Regions from separate parts of the Homo sapiens genome. Here all the other regions are linked to region 3. Evidence: promoter capture Hi-C in human tissues and cell types (Jung and others, 2019). All regions are on one chromosome and are shown on one strand. The core of a region is centred on a gene start or on the middle of the fragment in contact, and the rest is flanking DNA. Distances in the headings are between cores, read along the strand shown. Region 1 has its middle 71 kb from the start of SIRPA. Region 2 has its middle 91 kb from the start of SIRPA. Region 3 holds the start of SDCBP2 (syndecan binding protein 2).

Evidence for each region. The method cuts DNA at HindIII sites, captures the fragments that hold promoters and counts their contacts. A contact is called where the count stands out against the background at its distance.
Region 1: a fragment that was not itself captured here is called in contact with the fragment with the promoter of SDCBP2 in region 3 in 2 of the 25 tissues and cell types used here (dorsolateral prefrontal cortex and hippocampus).
Region 2: a contact is called between a fragment that was not itself captured here and the fragment with the promoter of SDCBP2 in region 3, in 1 of the 25 tissues and cell types used here (lymphoblastoid cells).

The regions. Positions count from the first base shown.
Region 1 is chr20:1,822,492-1,825,556 of GRCh38, reverse strand. No RefSeq gene overlaps it. Among named protein-coding and RNA genes, the nearest start is that of SIRPA, 71 kb to the left of the region's middle. The HindIII fragment of the contact is 6,431 bases long and covers 1-3,065 here.
Region 2 is chr20:1,803,263-1,806,387 of GRCh38, reverse strand. No RefSeq gene overlaps it. Among named protein-coding and RNA genes, the nearest start is that of SIRPA, 91 kb to the left of the region's middle. RefSeq lists a silencer at 2,767-3,016. The HindIII fragment of the contact is 3,353 bases long and covers 1-3,125 here.
Region 3 is chr20:1,327,529-1,330,863 of GRCh38, reverse strand. SDCBP2 (syndecan binding protein 2) reads left to right here and starts at 1,725. Exons shown (of 9, transcript NM_080489.5): 1 at 1,725-1,779. The region is part of intron 2 of FKBP1A-SDCBP2 (FKBP1A-SDCBP2 readthrough (NMD candidate)); the gene reads left to right. All of the region lies in intron 1 of SDCBP2-AS1 (SDCBP2 antisense RNA 1), which reads right to left. The HindIII fragment of the contact is 26,056 bases long and covers 1-3,335 here.

The DNA of each region.
Region 1 (3,065 bases), core at 162-2,661, 500 kb before region 3:
CTCCAGAGTGTAGGATTAGAATATTGGTTAGAATTGTGCTGAAATGTTGAATTAGAATATTAATCTGTGTTAGAACATTATATTTGAATGCAATGTTATAATAGTATATTAGTGTTACATTAAAATATTATATTGTGTTGAAATGTTTTCTTAGCAAGTTTTCTTAGAATGGCATGTTGAATCTTAAAATCAAAAGGGAGCGCATGAAATTGTGGGGTTCTTTGATGGCATGCAAAACACCACCTGACCTAGGAATGGTGGAGTAGCGGTGGCAGGGCCTGGATTTGGGCTCAGCTCTGACACTGACTCCTTTCCCTGCTCTTCCTCTCTCTGGACCTCAGTTTCCCCATTTTTACATCAGGAGCTGTTGGGCAGTGTTGGCCTCTAGGGCCTCTCTCATGCTGACTGTTTATGGGGCTCTGAATGCTGGACATTCGCGCTACGCCAACTCCCGGGCAGGAAGTGAAAATTCTGCTTAACAATGAGATTGATCTTATCAGGGAATGAATGACTTTCTGGGAGTAAACAGCTTCCTCACTGACAGGAAAAGTAAGAGGATCAAGTGACCAGGGTGAGAGAAACTCCAGACCAAGCAGGCAGGAGTATAGACCTCCAGCCAGCTGCTCACTCTTCCCTAAAGGCACAATGACTCCATCCTGCAAACTGGGGGTGAACCAGAGTCTCCTTCTTCCTTCTAGAAACATTTCCCCATCCATCCCACCCAGTCTTCTCCAGACCCCATGGCTGACCACAGTTTTAGGCTGCTATCCCTGACTGATGGGCCGAATTGCTGAGTTCTGAGCCCCTCATCTTTGCCCCTAGACGTTGGCTGGACTCTCGACCATCTCTGTTTTCCCCCTCCCCTATGTGGATCAGGGCATTTCAGAAGTAGGCCTAGAACAGATGGTTTCAGCAAAAATATCCCGGGCCTTCCCACCTGAACTCTCCCTGCCCCTCACTCTCTAGAAGAAAAAACAAGTGATGGCAAGGCAACCTGGAAAAATCCACACATTTACACAAGCTCTGATCCTTCTGTACATCTTCATGTTTTGCATGCACCACCACCCACAGACCCTGTGGTCCCTGATCCAAGACAAGGAGGGGGTTAAGAGCAAGGCCCAGCAGACCAGCTAATGACCATCAGTGCTCTTGTGCAACCCACTTCCCCTTCTGAAACTGTGTCCTCCATTGCAAAATGAAGTAAGGGTTTTGACCTTATTAAGCATGATGGGCATGAATTTGAGGTAACACCTGCAAACCATTCAGCTCAGCACTTATCAAGTGGCAAATGCACTGAGCTTGTTGAGGTTGAAATTGTCTAGAACTGGGCACACCCTACACCCACCCTAATGCCTTCAGCTTGAGGTCTGGGCCCCAGCCTTCCTGCATGCTACAGCTTGGAGGGTAACATTCATATCTCGCGGTCATCCTGAGATGAAAGGGAAAATCCACAGGAGAAAGACAGCCAGGGGTCTTGGTGATTGGAAGAAGGCTTTCTTAAGAAGCTTGTAGTGAGCATGATGTTTTTTGCTTAAATAAATCTCTTGATACTTTTGAGGGCAGACAAGGCCTTGGAACCTGGAGTAAAGAGGCTGGGCAGAGTTCTAGGCCCACATGGCGTCACTGGCTGACCTCTTTCTATCTCAGGGTTTCAGTTATCTAATCTGGAAAATGGGGCTTTAAAAGGCACTTCTTTCACAGGTCATTGTGGGGGTCAAATGAGATGGTCTAACTCAGAAATCTAGGAAAGGCCGTGAGAGGCCTGGTGTGGTATAGGGATGGAGAACAAAAAATAACACGAAGAAAAGGAGAAATGAAAGGGGAAATGGAGGGGAAGGGATAACTTAGAGAGATTGCATGCTATGGGCAGTCCCTGAGGCAGTCGCCAAGGCAACTTAGAGAAACAGCAGGTGGTAGGCAGTCAGCAGCTCTGCCACTAGCTTGTTGTGTGACTTCCAGCTGGTTCCCTGCCCTCTCTGAGCCTCAGGGTCCTCATGGGTAACACTGGCCATTCAGACTGGACAACTCCAATGGTGAACTCACCCGCCTCCCTTGGTCCCCTGGATTCCCTGATATGCAGCCGTAAGCCCTGAAGTGCTTGGCTGGGGAGACTAGAGTTGATCACAATTCCTAAACACCTTCACTCCTATTTTCATGGTTGGACCATGGATGGCAAGGAAAGGATCTCAGATTTCTGGAGGTGACAGCTGGGACAGCTGAAGATGGTCAGGTTCAAGCTCCTGCCTGAAGCTTGCCAGACGCTATCTGTCCACTTTTGCTGTGGTCACCTAGTGGGGATAGTGGAAATTGAGCAAATGTGTGTTAGTCATAAATGCCTGGTATGAGAACAAAGCAGTAAGCAAGCCAGATCCAGTTCTTGCTCTCATGGAATAACGTCTGGGGAGCAGGGTGAATAATACATTAGAACTCTGCTATTTGGTGCATATATGTATGTAATTGTTATATCTGCTTGATGAATTGACACTTTTATCAGTATATAATGTTTTTTGTCTCTTGTAAACATATTTGACTATTATGTATAGCATTCGTATAGCCATCTCAGATCTCGTTTGGTTACTATTTGTATGAAATATATTTTTTCATGTTTTCACATTCAATCTATTTGTATCTAAAATGAGTCTTTTGTAGACAGCATATAGTTGGATATTTAAAAAAATTCATCCTGTCAATTTATGCCTTTTGATTGGTGAGTTTAATCCATTTACATTTAAACTAATTACTGGTAATTAGGAACTTTTGCAATTTTGTTATTTGTTTTCTCTCAAATGTGCTGTTGAACTCTTCTAGTGAATTTTTCATTTCAGTTATTGTATTTTTCAGTTCCATAATTTATATTTGGTTCCCTTTTATAATTTCTATCTCTTTGTTGATATTATAATTTGGTTCATATATCATTCTTCTGATTTCCTTTAGTTATTTTTCTGTGGTTTTCTTTAGCTCTTTGAGCATTTTTAAGACAGTTGTTTCAAAGTCTTTATCTAGTAAGTCCAATGTCTGGGCTTCCTTAGGGATAGTTCCTGTCAATTTATTTTATTCCTTTGAAT
Region 2 (3,125 bases), core at 348-2,847, 480 kb before region 3:
GAAGAGACCAAGAGGCAGAAGTTGTTTGCTGAAAATAATGCAAAAATTATACCAGCCCTTGCCCAGCTACCTCCGGATTTCTTGCTACATGAAAAAAAAAAAAAAAATCCCTATTTGTTTAAGCCTCGTTGACACCTTGGGCTATTGCTCAGTCCTCAGTTTTCCATTTGTTAAATGGAGCATTAGCTCCTGTCTTACTACTTCCCAAAGGTGCCTGAGAGGGTAGAGTAAGAATGAAGAAGAGAAGGCCTTTTTCATGTAATATAAACAGTGCTTATGTTCCCAAAGATCAGCGAGTGACATGCTCAAACAGTTATAATATATTTAATGTGGTCATAATGGGAGTGAACTTGTCATGAACCAATTGCAATGGATTTTGGAATCAGACACGTTAGGGCTTGAGGCTCTCAGCTCTGCTAGACAAACTTCTAACTTGACAAATAGGCCAGTCATTAAATCTCTCCAAGCCTTAGTTCCCTCATCAATAAAGCACAGACGATGTGATTTCCCTCCGTTGAGTCTGTGTGAGGATTAAATTAAATGAGATTCATCCATCTATTTGATAAATATTGAATATCTCCTAGGGTCTAGGCCAAACACACTCTTGATATTGGTGGAGGCTGGTGTCCACTCACCCTTAAATCTAAATATTTAAAAATTATAAATCAGACCAATACCTTCTCTTAAATGTTCTATCCTTCTCCTCAGTAAGTATAACTTCTCAGCAGCCTGAAAGGCCAGGATTGATTTGGATTTCTTAGATACTCGCACTGAAATGTGGCGGTGCTGGGGAGAGCCAGCCCCATTCCCTGGTCGCTCATTTCCCAGCCTATAAACTGCCACCTTCCCTTCTCATCCCCAGCTCCATCCTGTACCGTGCACACCTCACCTGCATGTGTGTAGACATCCCAGGCTGCAGGTCCAATCTCCATCCACACCCTATCCTCTGCAGTGCCCCTTGGCTACACCCTGGGCTTAGTGTTCTGCCTCCAGACAATAGACCAGGAAGAGGCCTGGCAGCAGGCTTGGGACTTTTAGGTAGGGAGCTCAGGAATCCTAGGAATCTGTAGTATTCTAGACAAGGAGCAAAGACTTGGATGGGTATATCCCCTTGGCACTGCAGACTCTCTAGCCTGTGGGGATGTACGCAGCTGGAGGCTGGCCAGGGCAGAGCCCCGCTTGCCTGGGTCCAAGGATGGGCTGGTCAGCCTGTGCTAGGTGCTGCAGGTACATGAGTAGATGAAGCAGATACCACCCCTGCTTCTCCTACTCAAAGGTGAAGACACATCCCTGAAGTCAGGGCCTCAGTCTTAGCCCTATCTATAAGATGAGGGCTTACCTGATCTGACATCAGGTAATGTTGGAGACTTGGTGTACGTCCTCAGGAATGTCCTAGAAGCCAGGAGGTCAGATGAGGAGGGGCAAGCTTAAGGCCTAAGCAATCAACTTCCTCCTTGAACCTAAGGCTGGCAAGGCAGGAAGGGCACCCACCCTCTGGTCCAACTCCATCCACGCAACTCCTTCAGTGGCCATAACAACACAACTTCCCATCACACCTAGAATAAAAGTCCAGCTCCTTGCCGAGACCTGCAAAGCCTGCTACCCCCAGCTGCTGACCATCTCCAGTCTCCTTACTACTGCTCACTGAGTTCCATCCTTATGTTCATGAAACCCCACATCTACTCTCCCACCTCAAGGCCTTTGCCCTTGCTGTTTTCTCTGCTGGACACGCCCAGCTCTTTGCATGGCTAGTTCCTCTCACTGTGCAGGCCTCAGCTTACTCTCTTGCACAGAGACGTCCATTGACATCCTTTTAGGAGCAGCTCCTGTCTAGCCCCAGCTCTCTCTTGGGCGTGTCACCACTTTACATCCTTCCTAGTACAGCCAAAACTGGTGTAATGGAGTGTGCAAAAGCTTCCACTTGGGGCTGGACTGGCTGGGTCGAAACCCAGGCTGGGCCCAATATTCTCAAGTGCCGAGCCTACCTACTGCGCACTTGAGGCTATTGTTCAACCTGGTTCCCCACATATCGTGCAACCTGTTGTTTCTCCACCTATCGTGCAACCTGTTTCTCCACATATTGTTCAACTTCCTATTTCCCTTCAATAGATTATTCAACCAGCATTTTCCTATCTGTACAAGGGAGTGAGGATTACATGACCTAATGTGCATATAGCATAGAGCAGAGCCTGGCATAAGCGCTGCATTGGTGTTTGCTACGATATTAACACTTGTTGCTATTTGAAATTATTTTGTCTGTATGTTTCTTGTTTATTTCCCTCTTCTCTCTGACAGGCAAACTCCCCACAACAGCCTCCTCAACGCTGCCTCCCACAGTGCTTGGACAAAATAATTACAGCAAGATGCGGGCACTGAGCTGACTCCTTATGTAGGACATCCCAGTGCAGGTAGAGAAACTGAGGGACAGTTGGAGGTTCCTTGCCCTTGGTGATGCGGTGAGAGGGCCTGCAGGCACCAGCCCGGCCGCCCGCACCGCTTCTCGCGGACCCCAGCGGAGCCGCGCTTCTCGTGCCGCTCCTGAGGGTTTCCGCGGCGCCGGCGTTTTTGTTCCCGGCGCGTTTAAGTCGTTGAGGCCGAATCAAGCGAAGGCGGAAAAGCGGCGCGCAGCCCGCGTCAGCTGCAGTTCCGTCCCCCTGGTTCCCGGTGCGCTAACAAAGGCATTTGCATGAAAACAGGAACCCCGTCTGCAGAAAGGACTCGTTGGCGGGGTGCATCGTGCGCTCCAGTGCCCCTACCGCGGCGCCCCGCTCCCCAGGTGGGGAAGAAGCGGGGTGCGGGGACTGGCCCCAAACACGGCTCGGCCGGCGGGGACCGGCACGCTGCGGCCCGGGCGACCCCCTTCTCCGCCCCTTTCCCAGGCCGGCGGAAACGGCCGTCTCGGGCGTGGGCGCGCTTCTGCGGACTCCTCGGGACCTTTTACCCAGGCGTGCGGCCGGGGCGCCCGGGGCCTCGGGGAGCCGGCGCCAGCGTGCGGAGCGCAGCGGAGCGGAGGGAGCGGCGGGAGCGGCGTCCGTGGCTGGTCCAGGTCTGGGGCGCAGCCTCCAGGCTCGCCCTGCGCCGCTCTGGGCCTCGGCCTCTTCGCCTGTTCGACCGGGGCGCAAGCG
Region 3 (3,335 bases), core at 476-2,975:
CTTCCTCCTCCCTCTTCTATAAAGGCCCTTTCAGGTCATGACTGAATGAAGTGAGGTGGGGGAGGAGTGGCTTGGTTTAGTTAGGATCTCTATTTTCCACTTTGCTTTGGCCTTGGACACCTGACCTAAGGTGGGTCCATCACCCACGTTACCTCAGCTTCAGGCCCACACAGCTTACTCTGAGGTTGCCCCACACCTCAGCTTTCTGAAACAGTATGTCCCATAGAAGAGAAGACATGAACTTGGCCCACTTTCCAGCTAACTTGAGAGAGAAACTTTGCCTCTGTGCCTCAGTGTCCCCACCTGGAGGAATGGTGTGAGTCACACCTACTCTGCAGGGATGGCATGAGAAGCCATTGAGATAATGCCTTTAAAGTGCCAGGGGTAGAATCTCTGTGCTCTCTGGGAGTAAGTGCTGAATTAGTGGCAAATGTCTTTCTTGTTATTATTCCTATTGTGTGTTTCCTGTGTGGGACTCTGGGCTGTAAGCTCTTCATTGGCAGGCACAAGATCTGACACCCAAGGCTAGTGCAACTCTGCCAGGTGGGTCATGGGAACTGTGACGTAGGCCTGCCTGGCCCAGGAAGCAGCCCAGATACTGACACACCCTGAGTGTGTACAGCGTCAATCCTCATGGGACTGCCCAGCACACGAGTCCCTCGTCCCTCCCCAGGCACCCAGTGCGACAGGCACCCTCACCCAACCAAACCCACCAGGATCTAAACTAAATTCTTCCTCCTTTTCTGTTCAAATTTATATAATTATTTTTGGAATAAGTAGTACATTTAAACTTTTCAAAATTTAAGACACCAAAAATGTGCCATAAAAAAAAAAATCTCCACCTCAGCACACAGCTCCTTAGGTCTGCTCCCAAGAGACAACCACTCTAAATTCCCATTAAAATAATCAAACTTAATTGCTTCCCCCTTACAAAAGTCATGAGCATTCAGAGCAAAAGCTAACTTAAAAAAAAAAAAACCACCTTGGAACACACAAAAGTACAAACTGAAAACCTCACCCTCAATGCTGCCATTCAGAGATACTCAGCATTTTAGCGTATGTCCTCCTAGACTGCTTTCAACGCACATCCACTTTACAAAAAATGAAAACAAAATGCAAGAAGAGATTCACAATATTGATTTTTCAACATCTCACTAGAATCTCAGAAATGTTTCCTCATACCTTCTTCCTTAAGTGACTTTAATAGCTCTGTGATCTTCCACAGACAATGATTTATTCAAGCAGACCACAGAGATGGGCATTTGGGATTTCTACATTTTCCTTACTAGAAGCAGCAGTGATGGATGGGCCCTGTGACTCCACTGTAACAAATTCCTAGAAGAAATGCTGGGTCACAGGATATGACCACTTTTTAATATCCTGGCCTAGACCCCTAGATACCTATCACAAACCGCCCTCTAGCCAACTGCCTCGATCAGCAGGACTAGGTGTCCAACCCAAATTTAGAGCTATTTAAGAAAAGGCCAAGAAGTCTTGGTTCATAACCGTCTGAACAGCAGCTGTGAGGGCCTTAATCCCACCTCCAAATCCAGACTAAGGCCAAAGGCCTCCTCTGGGCTGGCAACCTGCCTTGTTTACCCAGCCACAGCCCTCACCTGTGCCCATCCCAGTCCAAGGTGAGTCAGCTGAACAGGGGACAGGCACCACCCTTCCCAGATCAGGAAGCCAGCTGAGAGACAGGGCTACGTTTCAGGGAGGGAAACAGATTCAGCAGCGGCAGCAGCTGGAGAAGGTCGTGGAGCAGCACCTTGCCTGCAGGTAAGCGCTGGGGGCCCTGACCCAATCCTGGCTGGGATTGGGATGAGTGAGACCTGCTCTCACCCTGTCCCCTTCCCTCCCTGCCCCTTCCCTTCTGGGACTTCCCAGGCAGCTTCCTTTCGAAGTGCTTCACTCCAAGCAGTCAAGTGTGAAGTGGGGTTTCTTCTTCTGATCCCAGCCCTGGACCAAGTTTGATTAAGGGCTGAGTGATTTTCTTCACCCAGACATCATGAGGGCCCCCGATGCCTTCTGACTGCCCATGACTGTGCTCAAGGAGATGAGATCCACACTTTGCTCCTTGAAAGGCCAATTCCAGCCGAAACCAGAGGCTGCAGGCAGGCAAAAAGCCCATTTCTCCCAAGGAATCCACAGCTCAGGCCGACTTCTCTGGCCTGAGGCTGTTTCTATCAAAAAACCTTCCTGCCACAGCACTGAAACACCTGCTGGGGAACTGCGCCAGGGGCTTCACCTTTCTAAGAACTGGTTTCTTCATCTGGAGACTGAAAATAGCCCACAAAGTCAGGAGAATGGAAGGACATACTGGACACAGGAGCCAGTGCATGCCCTCCTCAGCAGGGTCTCAGAAAATGGGGCAGAAAACGAGCCTGGTATGGGCTGGGCGAGCACTGGACAGGCAGCTTCACGTACAGTGGCCCAAGCTCATGACAATTCCACCACCATCACTTCCCACCTGGGCTCCTGCTCCCACTCCTGCCCTGTAGCCCATCCTCCAAACATCAGCCAGAGGAGGCCTGTCAAAATAACCCTTGGACCTTGGCACTCTGCTGCTACAAATCCCCCAGTGGCTCCCATCTCACTACAGTAAATGCCAAAGTCCTCACCATGACCTCCAGGCCCTCCAGGATCTGGCCCCTCTCACTTCTCCAGCTTCCTCCCCACTACTCCTCCTTACTCCCTCTCTGCACAACTGGCTTCTCACTGGCAGATGTCCTCTAAACACAACACCAACTCCCACCTGAGAGGCTCTGCAATGGCCGTGCCCACCCCATTAGGCCTTTCCTCAAATGTCACCCCACCCAGCCAGCAAGGCTTCTGAACCTCCTGACATGACCCTCCGTCCTGCTCTTTCTCTCCAGTGCCTCCCACCATCTAACACAGCACACAGAGTCACAAAGCCTATTTATCCAGCTCTTCCCCCAAAGAAAGTACATTTGGGGACCAAGTCTTCTTTCCTTCACTGCTGATACCTAGAACAGTACTCAGACTTAGCAGGTGCTGAGTAAGTAAGCGCTGAAACAATGAATAAACAGCTAACTTTTACTGAATGCCTATTATGTGCTAGGTGCTGTGCTAAATGCTTTCCATATACACCTTAACTCTTTTTAAAAATCTTTCAGTCTCCAGACAACTGTGATGCAACTATTGTTATCCAGATTACAAAGGAAGAAATGACATTCAAAGGGGATTTGCCTATGCTGTGCTCTCACAAGTCAGAAGCAGTCAGTCTGAACCCTGCCCTGCCTGGGCCTGGGTTCAGGCGTGTCTGCTTGAGGAAGTCACAGCTTTTCCCCAGCAGGCAGTGCAGCACTGAGAGG